2 separate regions of the Homo sapiens genome follow, and region 1 is linked to region 2. The links are contacts of gene promoters, found by promoter capture Hi-C in human tissues and cell types (Jung and others, 2019). All regions are on one chromosome and are shown on one strand. Each heading gives the region's core, a stretch centred on a gene start or on the middle of the fragment in contact. The rest is flanking DNA. Distances are from core to core; before and after follow the strand shown. Region 1 overlaps LINC02609 (long intergenic non-protein coding RNA 2609). Region 2 holds the start of BARHL2 (BarH like homeobox 2).

What was found. The method cuts DNA at HindIII sites, captures the fragments that hold promoters and counts their contacts. A contact is called where the count stands out against the background at its distance.
Region 1: a fragment that was not itself captured here is called in contact with the fragment with the promoter of BARHL2 in region 2 in 2 of the 25 tissues and cell types used here (hippocampus and mesendoderm cells).

Annotation. Positions count from the first base shown.
Region 1 is chr1:90,798,978-90,805,037 of GRCh38, reverse strand. The region is part of intron 1 of LINC02609 (long intergenic non-protein coding RNA 2609); the gene reads left to right. Among named protein-coding and RNA genes, the nearest start is that of LINC02788, 34 kb to the left of the region's middle. The HindIII fragment of the contact is 6,888 bases long and covers 993-6,060 here.
Region 2 is chr1:90,715,797-90,721,196 of GRCh38, reverse strand. BARHL2 (BarH like homeobox 2) reads left to right here and starts at 3,895. Exons shown (of 3, transcript NM_020063.2): 1 at 3,895-4,626. The coding sequence starts at 4,002. The HindIII fragment of the contact is 10,681 bases long and covers 1-5,400 here.

The sequences.
Region 1 (6,060 bases), core at 3,187-5,686, 83 kb before region 2:
CTAACACATTCTATGAAGCCTGCATTATTCTACTACCAAAATCAGAAAAGGACATTATGAGAAAAGAAAATTACAGAACAGTATCTCTCAGGAGCATAGATGCAAAATCCTCAACAAAATATTAACAAAATGGAATCCAATAATGTATGAAAGAATTACATATCATGACCAAGTGAGATTTATCCCAGGTATGCAAGATTGGTTCAACATTTGAAAATCAATTAATATAATCAATCACATCGACAAACTAAAAAAGAAAAATTACTTGATAATGTCAGTAGGTGTGGAAAAAGCATTTGAGAAAATCCAATACCAATTCATGATAAATTCATCAGACTAGGAATAGAGGGTAAATTCCTCAACTTAATGAAGAATATTTATAAAAAACCTACAGCTAACATCATACTTAATGGGGAGAAACTAGAAACTTTCTCACTCAGATTAGGAAAAAAGTAAAGGTATCCCCAGTCATCCCTGCTTCCCAACATTGCACTGGAAGTCCTAGCTAGTGCAATAAAACAAGGAAAGAAAATTAAATATATATAGATTGGGAAGGAAGAAATAAAACTACCTTTGCTCGCAGATTACATGATTGTTTATGTAGAAAATCCAAAAGAATTGACCAAAAAAACCCCAAAAACTCCTAGAACTATTAGGTTGGTACAAAAACCACATGGCAGAAACTGCAATTACTTTTGCACTAACCTGATAAGTATGGCAGTAAGGTTGCAGGATACAAGGTTAATATACAAAAGTCAATTGCCTTTCTATATACTGGCAATGAAATGGTGGACTTTGAAATTAAAAACACAATACCATTTACATTAGCACCCTCAAAATGAAATCTAACAAAATATATACAAGATCTATATAAGAAAAACTATAAAACTGATGAAAGAAATCAAAGAACTAAACAAATGGAGAGATATTCCATGTTCATGAATAGAAAGACCAACATTGTCAACATGTCAGTTCTTCCCAACATGATCTATAAATTCATTGCAAACCCAATCAACATTCTAACAGTTTGCAATACAGTTATTGGCAAACTGACTCTACAGGAGAGGCATAAGACTCAGAATATCCAACCCAGTATTGAAAGAGAAGAACAAAGTTAGAAGACTAACACTACCTGACTTCAAGACTTACCATAAAGCTACAGTGTGGTATTGGTGAACAAATAGGCAAATAAATCAATGGAACAGAATAGAGAGCCCAGAAATAGACCCATAGAAATATAGTCAACTGATCTTTGACAACTGATCTTTGACAAAGGCAATACAATGGATAAAAGATGGCCTTTTCGGGAACTACTAAACATCCACATGCAAAAAAAAAAGAATCTAGACACAGACCTTACACCCTTCACAAAAATCAGCTCACAGACCCAAACATAAAACACAAAACTATAAAACTCTTAGAATGTCATAAATTTGTTAAACATAGTTGCTGCATTGGCTTCAATATTTGGGGCCTGACATAAGTTCTTTGAAACCCAGTTGTACCCTGTCACCTTTGGCCTCATTAAAACTTTTTCTGTGTGGTTATTTTTAATATAGCCCACTTGTTCCTCATCTCATTAACCCAAAACCCAACACATTCCATAGCTGCTGATTATGATGTCAATATCTAATTGTCAACACCAGAATTATGTGAAAAAATCCCCTACTTTGCATTTTTGTTTGTTTTTGAGACAGGGTCTCACTGTATCACCCAGGCTGGAGTGCAGTGGTGTGACTATGGCTCACTGCAGCCTCAACCTCCTAGGCTCAAGCAATACTCCCACCTCAGCCTCCTGAGTAGCTGGGACCACAGGAGCACACCCCTATGCCTGGCTAATTTTTGTATTTTTTTTGTTGAGACAGGGCTTTGCCAATTTTGCCTAGGTGGCCAAACTCCTGAGTTTGAGCAATCCACCCACCTTGGCCTCCCAAAGTGCTGGGATTACAGGCATGAGCCACCACACACAGCCTGGCTATGTTTTCTTTAAAGTAGCCAATTCACAGCTCCCATGGGAAAACCTAAGGACTAGCGCCCTTGATAAGGGCAAAGTCCCACAGGTCTTCTTTCTCTCCCACTCTCCACCTGATGGTTGAGCTCCCTGCTGCCTCCAGATTTCCTGATGACTTCCTATCAGCACCCCTAATCTCTCTGGTACCTGTAAGTAATACATTTCTTCTGTTTTAGGCATTCTGGTTTCAATTCCTCATTCCTCATTGTGCTTCACCTGACACAAGCACTTGAACCTAACTTTCCTCCTGGTCAGCCCTCTCCTAGAGGGTGGCTATCTTGGCTTATTGCTGCTCTCAAGAGAGAGAGCTCAGGATCAGATTAGAAAAAAATCACAATGTAGAAGATAACATGGGACAAAATATAGATTGCCTTGGGTTTAGCAATGACTTTTTACATATAATACCAAAGGCGTGATACATGCAAGAGATAATAAGCTAGACTTTATTAAAACTAAAAATGTCAGCCGGGTGCGGTGGCTCATGCCTGTAATCCCAGCACTTTGGGAGGCCGAGGTGGGCGGATCACGAGGTCAAGAGATCGAGACCATCCTGGCCAACGTGGTGAAACCCAGTCTCTACTAAAAATACAAAAATTAGCTGGGCGTGGTGGTGCTTGCCTGTAGTCCCAGCTACTCAGGAGGCTGAGGCAGGAGAATCGCTTGAACCCAGGAGGCAGAGGCTGCAGTGAGCTGAGATCATGCCACTGCACCCAGCCTGGTGACAGAGCGAGCCTCTGTATCACAAAAAAAAAAAAAAAAAAAAAAAAAAAAAAAAAGAGAGAGAGAGAAAATGAACAACTTAATTTAAAAATGGACAAAACACTTGAACAGACACCTTGCCAAAGAAGATACACAGATGGCAGATAGGCAAAATAAAAGATGCTCCACATCACATGTCATTGAGGAAATGCAAATTTAAACAACAATGAGATACCACTACATGCCTATTAGAATGGCCAAAATCCAGAACACTGACAACACCAAATGTTGGCAAGGATATAGAACAATGGGAATTCTCATTCATTGCAGGTGGGGATGCAAAATGATACAGCCGTTTGGAAGACAGCCTGTTTTTTGTTGTTGTTGTTTTGTTTTGTTTTTTTTTACAAAACTAAACATACTTCTACCGTATGATCCAGCCATTGAGTTCCTTGGTGTTTTCTAAAAGAAATGGAAATCACCTTTACACAAAAATCTGCACATAGATATTTATAGTAGCTTTATTCATAATTGCCAAAACATGGAAGCAATAAGTTGTCCCTCAGTAGGTGAATGGATAAATAAACCGTGGTACATCCAGACAATGGAATATTATTCAGCATTAAAAAGAAATGACTATCAAGCCATGAAATGACATGGAGGTACCTTAAACGAATATTACCAAATGAAAGAAGTAAATCTGAAAGGTTACATATTGCATAATTCCAGCTATATGACATTCTGAAAAAGGCAAAACTATGGATACAGTATAGAGGTCTCAGTGGTTGCCAGGAGTTGGAGAGAGGTAGGAATGAATAGGGGAAGCATGGAGGGTCTTCAGGGCTGTGAAACTATTCTGTATGATATTATAATGGTGGATGCATATCATTGTACATTTGTCCAAATCCGTAGAATGTACAACATCAAGAGTGAACCCTAATGCAAACTATGGACTTTGGATGATAATGATGTGTCCGTGGAAGTTCATCAGTTGTAACCAATGTACCACCCAGGTGTGGGATGTTGAGAATGGGGGAGGCTGGCTGTGTGTATGTGAGGTCAGGGAGCATATGGGAACTCTCTATACTTTCTACCTCAATTTTGCTGTGACCTTAAAACTGCTTTACAAAATAAAGTTTATTTAAAAGGGGGGGAGGGGAAACAAATAAAACAAATCACCAACAACAACAACAACAACAAGAACAAGATTAAGTACAGATCCTGAGCCTTGACAGAGCAGCCCCAGAAACCTTTGTTTTCTCAAGGTCCCATCACAAACCTCTGCTCTAGCCTAAGCAGCCTATTTAAGGTGCCCCAAATATCCCTTTTCCTTTCCCAGCATCTTCCCAGCTCACAATGTCCTCTTCCCCCACTCCTACCCTGTCACTCAACCACATTCTTCAGTGTTCAGTGCTGGTTCTACCCCTCTGGGAGAACTTCTTAACTTATCCTCACTAGAAGGGATGTCTCCGGCCTCTGCACTCCCCTGCACCTGGGCCAGTCATCTGGCTCTTAACGTTGGCTACCCTGTGGAGTTAGATAGAGCGCATGGTTTTTATGGATGTGTAGTAGTTCTCTAGTGTGCAAATTCTTTCAGAACATGTATTTTGCTGTATGATTTGTGTCATTGCCCTCAGACTTGTTTGTATTTAATTCAAGGATTAAATCAAAATATCAAAACTTACATTAAAATTTCAAAGCAATAAGTGGCCACAAAGCTTCCACACTGGAAGATGCATCTCACAGTCCCTCAGTGTTATAGTGTCACTGGTGGGAATGACTCTGAAGCAGCATGCAGAGCCACCTTCTGGGCTCCAAGGTGATGAGCCCCTGGGAGTTACTATTCCTGCCTCCTTAGTGAAGACCTCGGGCTCTTCAGGATTTTCTAGGGGGTCGCTTTAGTCTGTAAAACCTTACATGGCTTACTACCAGAGGGGTCACCCCTCTGTATGCTCACCCTGGGAAGAGTGAGATGAATTCACTTCCAAGACTAATGATCTGAGAGCCTTTTCCTGGGGCAGCAGGCTCTCCGATCTGGCAGCTGTCCTCTTCCCCTGTTGCTCTGCTGCACTGATTTGCAACTAGGCAGATTTGACGGTGGGGGTGGGAGAGAGCATGCAGAAGCGCCCCCACTGACCTCATGTGCCCTTCCCCACCTAGCCTCAATCACACCCATACTGACTGAGAACCATGGCTCCAACAGTTAAGCCTTTAACGTGAGGGAACACTGTTTTCTCAACTAGGCATATTCTGCTAGAAATATCAGATCCTTTTCAGTGTACCTTAATTTTACAAATATTTCAGATGAAAGTTACTTTGCCCTTGCCCCAAATTACCTGAGCCATGATCTCAATCTGATCATTTTATTTTAATAGTCCCAACCTTAAAATGTTCAAATCCACCTTATTCTGTAGAGAAGTCCATGTGTCTGCAGAAACACCATGTTTCTTTGTCTGTCCTTGTGAGTCTGAATAATTAAACAGGATTTTGATGGCGTGTGTGCCATGTGTATTTATTGTGCACACAGGTAGATACATGCATAACATATTAATTGAATTATTTTAAAAGCATAAATATTTTGCTGGGTTACAGAAACACACACTAAATATCTAAATCTACAAACTGCTGACAAACAGCACCTTTTCTAACAAAAGAGAGCAGTTTAATAACAGTGTTAGAAAGCTGGCAATATGTTTGCTAAAATCTTTAATTAGGGACAGGCTTTCCCAGAGGCTTCTGAAGGCAAAAGGTGTAAATGGAGAAACTGTCCCAGCCTGCATGCTCCGCGGTGGCTGTGTTCCGAGCACAGATGGGCTGGTGAGGAAACTGTGAATGGACAAATGATAACAGACTACTCTGTAATTCCAACATCAGCTCATTAGCAATCTGTCAGAGATTTTAATATTTATACTGGTAAAAATGCAGAAATCACACGATCGTTACGCGACAGTGTGTGTGTCTCACTGAAAAGGCCATTATCAACGGATTGGCATAATGGCTATTAATAAAACAAAAATGTCGCGGGAAGCACAGGCATTTGGATGCTTTGTGCTCGTTAGAAAATGATGATTTTGTGTGCTTTTAGGCCATAACAGGAAGCTGAGATAACAATGGTTTCATGATGGAAATCATTAATAAATAAACAACCAGGCCAGCATGGTGGAAAATGTGAAGGACATGAAGCCATACCAGTTTCCAAAAGATGAACGGTGACATTTCTCAGTTCTGAAAAATCCTCTGTGTCAGCAACTTTAAATTCCCTTGGATCACAAACCTGGTTTCCAAATGATTTTAAACTTGCTAGTCAGTGGGTTCAAATAGTTGCCATTGAAAACATATCTATTTAGAAT
Region 2 (5,400 bases), core at 2,646-5,145:
TTCCAAAAATTACACAAGTTTCTTTTTTTCTCTTCCCCTTCTCCTTCTTCTAAGGAAATGAGGGCCTGAAAGTGAATGAGTTTAATATTTAAACTCATGTCAGTTTAGAGACTCTATTTATTTGTATTTTAAATCCAGTGGGAAAATCTAAGATTAAATCCAGTTAAAGCATTTTCTTTCGTTTAGAAATATGATATATCTGCACCCTATTGTGTTTCTGAATTGTGATTTTTAAAAATGAAAAGTGAATTATGTTTGCCAGAAAATGCATGACTTCTTGGATGTATACATTATATACTTTCAGAAAAAAAATGCGAGAGAGGAATGTGTCTGGAGAAAAAAGAACTGAGAAAAGTTAAACAAAACTCCAGCTCTGAAAAAAAATTTTTCATTAAGTTTGCAATTTGGTCTTCAAGTCCATTTTGTGAATCTTCAGGCCACTACTAACATAGCAGCCTTGATAAAAGTCAAGGTCGTGTTTTCCCCTTACCGTTATTGCTCCTGGAAGCTGATCTAACACCCACCCAGAGAACTCTTCTATGATATTAACCTTTTCTTAAGAAAATATGATCTGAGACATTCACAAAGTGGGGCCTACTGGGTTCCCTTTTGCTTTGCTTTAGAGTTGTCACAAAACACGCTCTCCCCTGCCCCCAACACTTCCACGTTTCTCTCTCCTTTTCTTTATAGATTTCATTTTTTTTGTAGGGTCATATCTCCATCGTCTCCCCTGCCAATGCTGTGAATTATTCCAAGCAAAAAGACCCTGTCGAACCGCCCAACACAAGCTGTGCGATCAGCCTTTTGAGCTCTTGAGTCATTTTAGGCGTCGGAACAAAACAAAAACAGGCTTAAATGAATTATTTATCAAGGTCGAGAATAATTGATTTGTGCAGTGCCGTCAGTTCTGGATTTTAAATTTGTTTTCTCCCCCTCCCTACTTCCCACCCTGAATATGCAGCGAGGGGAGTTCGAGTTGGAACCTCCCAGGGCTAGGAGAAAACGCACCATATTCGGGAAGTTGGTGGATGATGATGTTGGAATGGGAAGAACCCTAATCGATATTTGAAGAGGGTAGAGTAGGTAGGGTCAGCCTGCAGTCTCGGGCAGCCCTAGAGCCCTTCCTGTCCTCCCCACAGCGGTCAACTGTGACAGAGGCGCAGGATATTTAGGCTGCGAAGCTGTGCAGCGTCGGGCCCTGCGGCCTCGGATAAGCCACCTCCACAAGTCTACCGTCTGTGTTTCGGTAACCGCGGCCGAAGGCCGAGGCCGAGGCCGAGGCCGAGCCCGCGAGCTCTCCGGAGGGTCTCCCGGGCCAGCACTCAGTTCCCGCGCCAAAGGCATTTGATCCAACCCCGCTCCAGCCTACAGTGGCCCGACCCCACCCGGCGGGGCCCAGTCACCCGTTCCCGAGGGCCTCCCCGCACCCCTCTGGCCACTGTCGGCCCCTGCCGGGATGGAGCACGTCCGGAGTCCCCGCCTCGGCTCACCAACCCCGTCTTCTCCGCCAAACTCCCTTCGCCTTCCGAGAAGAGCGAGAGCTGCCCGGATTGTGCATCTCCTTGCCTCCGTCCCTTCAATCCCCGCTGTTCTCTCGGAACAGCCCTAGGAAAAATGCCACTGAGACGATGAGAAACAGCTCAACCCACCCTCCAAGTAGTGCTGTTTTTTTTTTTTTTTTTTTTTTTTTTTCTGGGTCAAACACACCGATTTCCCTAGGAAAACGCAGGCAGGATGAGTCGCCCAGCTACCCGCTTCCGGACCCAGGGCTCACACAGAAGCAGTTCCGACCGAAAGGCAAGAGCTTGTCCCAGGAGGTCATTTGCCTCCCTGACACCCCTCCCTTCGTCCTCAACAGATAAAAGCTGTGGCCCAGAAAGTGACCTCCAGAACTGCAACTAAACTCCAGATTTCGGCCCAGCCTTTGGAGACATTAAAGGCCACTCGAACATCATTCCAGACCTAGCCACGGAAGCGATGCCCGCCTCGCAGATTCATAGGGTTCTTAAAATGGTAATTTGGAGTAAAATGTAACTCAAAGAACTTTGAATCATTCATTAGCACCTTATAATTACTCTGCTAATTAGGTTGACACGGCACTTAATCAGGAGTAATACGCCGTCTTGTCACTGGCACTTCCCATTACTCTGACATTCAACATGAGACAGGTTGGAGACGTCCTAGAGAAAATAATGCAAGTTGATACACTCCAACGAGGCGTTACAGTCATGCTCCGGGTCCCAAGTGGATCCGCAGTGACTGTTTCCTTTCCAAATGAGCGCTCGCCGAAAGGGGCCGGGGGACAGAGGTGGACGGACTGCCGCGGGGCGCGGCAGGGGCGCGGGCTGCAGACCAGCCGCTATGGGTCCTGAGCCCCGCGCCCGCCCGACACCGCAGTGAACCGTGGCTGCCCTCGCCACCAGAGAACGCCTCGGGCATTAGCTCCCCCGTTCGGGAGAAAGCGTCTGGCCAGGCATTTTTTCCAGCTGGAGACCAGGCTGGTTCCCCAGCTTGGAGCCTCAGGCCTCGTCCTCCCCGAGAGCGCCTGGTGGACGCGGACCCGGCTGTGTCCCTCTCAGGGATCCGCCTCCCGCCGGGCTGAGCCCGAGCGCCTGGGTTCGTCGGGCGAGAAATCAGAGCCCAGAGCCGACCCGCCCGCTTATGCAAGGCTCCGGCGCCTGAAGTGACACACTTTTCTGTGGATTCCTTCAGGGATCTCCTTCCTCCGCTCTTAATGTCTTCGGACTATTCCCGCGCGCGTTTGGGGAGGCTGCGAGGGCCGCCGCGCTGGAGCCTAAAGGTAAGTCCCTTCCCGTCCTCTTCTCTCTCTCTTCTGACTTAAGAAAACGGGCGAATCCTTGCTACTTTTTTTTTTCTTTCTCCCCTTTGGTTCCCTTTCTCTGGTCTCCCTCTGATCTCTTCCTCCCTCTCCCTTTGCCTCGCACTCGTGATTGTGGACACCGGGACCACTGGACTCGGAGTTCGGCTCAGGGCTGCGGGCTCAGGGATGTGCGGGTTCTCAAAAGAGCAGCGGAGTCCGAGCCGAGTCCGCTGACGGGCTCACGAGCGCTGCGCCTATTGGCTCCCTGGCACGTCGGCGTCCCTCGCTCGCGCGGGCGCGGCCAATAGGGGCGCGGGGCCGGACGCGCGGCCTCGGTGGCGGGGGCGCGGGCCCGGCGCGGCGCGGCGCGGGGAGCGGCGGTAGTGGCCGTGACGTCACGGGAGGGGGTCGGCGCCGCCCGCCAGCAGCCGGATTACAAGCGAACGCGCCCGGCAGCGGCCGGAGTCGCCCGGCATCGCGTCTCCGCCGCTTCCTCCTTCTGTGCCTGCTCCTTCTCGTCGTCCTCCTCTTCCTCCTCCTCCTCGGGTTGCCGCAACCGCTGCGGCCGTGTCTGCCCCGCAACTTTCCAAGAAAGTTCAGAAACTCGGCTACGGGGCTGCCGAGTGGCGCGCGGCTGCCACCTCGGGAGCCGCGGGGGAGTTCCGAGGGCGCGCGGCCGCCCGGGCTTCGCGGTCGCTGCACCTGCCGCGTCCGCCGCCGCCACCGCTGCCGCCCGGTGCCAGGCTGTGGGCAGACCCCGGCAGCGGCGGCGGCGGCGGCTTTGGCGTAGCTTCCCGCCGCCTGCGCCTTCGCCTTCGCCTGCGCCTTCGCCTTCGCCTTCGCCTTCGCCTGGGTCCTCCGCGCCGCCACCGCCGCGCCACGTGCGCAGTCGTTCCTGGAGCGCAAGTTCCGAGTTTTCTCAGAAATTTTTTTAACTCCCCCCGCCCCCCGCATCTTTTTTCTTTCCACCCCTACTTTTTGCATAAAAGAAAAAAAGTTGTGTCGAAAGTATCCACAGATTGCCACTTCCCAATTACCCTTCCTTCTCTCCCCGCCCCACTTTTTTTTTTTTAAGCGGCGGCAACATTGTTTGGTGTTTATTTTGTTTTACGATCGATAGCTTTCTTCGCTGGTTCGGGGCGGCTGCTGAACGGCGGAGTGGCGTGGACCTCATGTAGCAATGACAATGGAAGGGGCCAGCGGGTCGAGTTTTGGAATAGACACGATTTTGTCCAGTGCCAGTTCAGGCAGCCCAGGCATGATGAATGGAGATTTCCGCCCGCTCGGTGAGGCCAGGACCGCGGATTTTAGGAGTCAGGCCACCCCATCTCCCTGTTCGGAGATTGATACCGTAGGGACGGCGCCTTCTTCTCCTATCTCAGTCACCATGGAGCCCCCGGAGCCGCATCTGGTAGCAGACGCGACCCAGCATCATCACCACCTCCACCACAGCCAGCAGCCGCCGCCGCCGGCCGCGGCCCCGACGCAAAGTTTGCAGCCTTTGCCCCAACAGCAGCAGCCGCTGCCGCCACAGCAGCCGCCGCCGCCGCCCCCCCAGCAGCTGGGCTCGGCCGCCTCGGCCCCCAGGACTTCCACGTCTTCTTTTTTAATTAAGGACATCTTGGGCGACAGCAAACCTCTGGCGGCATGTGCACCCTACAGCACCAGCGTATCCTCTCCCCACCACACCCCGAAGCAGGAGAGCAACGCAGTGCACGAGAGCTTCAGGCCAAAGCTCGAGCAGGAGGACAGCAAGACCAAACTCGACAAGCGGGAGGATTCCCAGAGCGACATCAAATGCCACGGTGAGTCCCGCCACCCGGCGCTCTCGGCCGTCTAGCTTGTCCTCCTGGTTCCCAATCTCCCCTTCAGCCTTCAGCAGATCTCTGCTGGGGAGCGATTCCAGGAGCTTCTCGGGCGACTGGGCGACGGTCAAAAGACTGCAGCTGAAGGGAGGCCTGGGCGTGCGATGTGGGGACTCCTCGAAGTTCTGTTTATTGTTCTACCCCACAACCTTCACGGCCATCCAGCTCCTTCCTTTGTTTTATTTAATTTTAATCTACTGGGGGTTGAGGGGCGGCGGAGGGCATCCGACAGGAAATACTTTTCGTTGATAAAAGGGATGGACTTGGGGTTTTTCTAGCCTAGACTTTGGGAATGGGAATGGGGGGAGGTAGGAGAGAGAAACCACTTAGCTAGCGTGGGTGTGATCACAACCTGGTGTTTATTCTTTAGTACAAGTGATTTCACCCCCCCCCCACTTTATTTTCTTAACATCATCACAGGAATTATCGGTTTTAATGGAGGAAAAATTTCTGAGTTCATGAACAGAGCAACTTTAAAAAAATTAGATTGTGGTTAGCCCGTAAAAATTTGTAATAAGTTTCTTAAAAGCACCCTTCTTACCCTATGGCCTCAACTGAGTATCTGTATCCTACAAAGATTTTTGGCCCCTTACAAGTACTTAGGAGGTAGTATTTATAAAAATAAAATCTTATGAAATTGGATTAATCTCTTTTTTGTTAAAAAAAAAATAAGATGACAATGGAAATTGTCCTTCAACTCCCTTTTTCCATTTT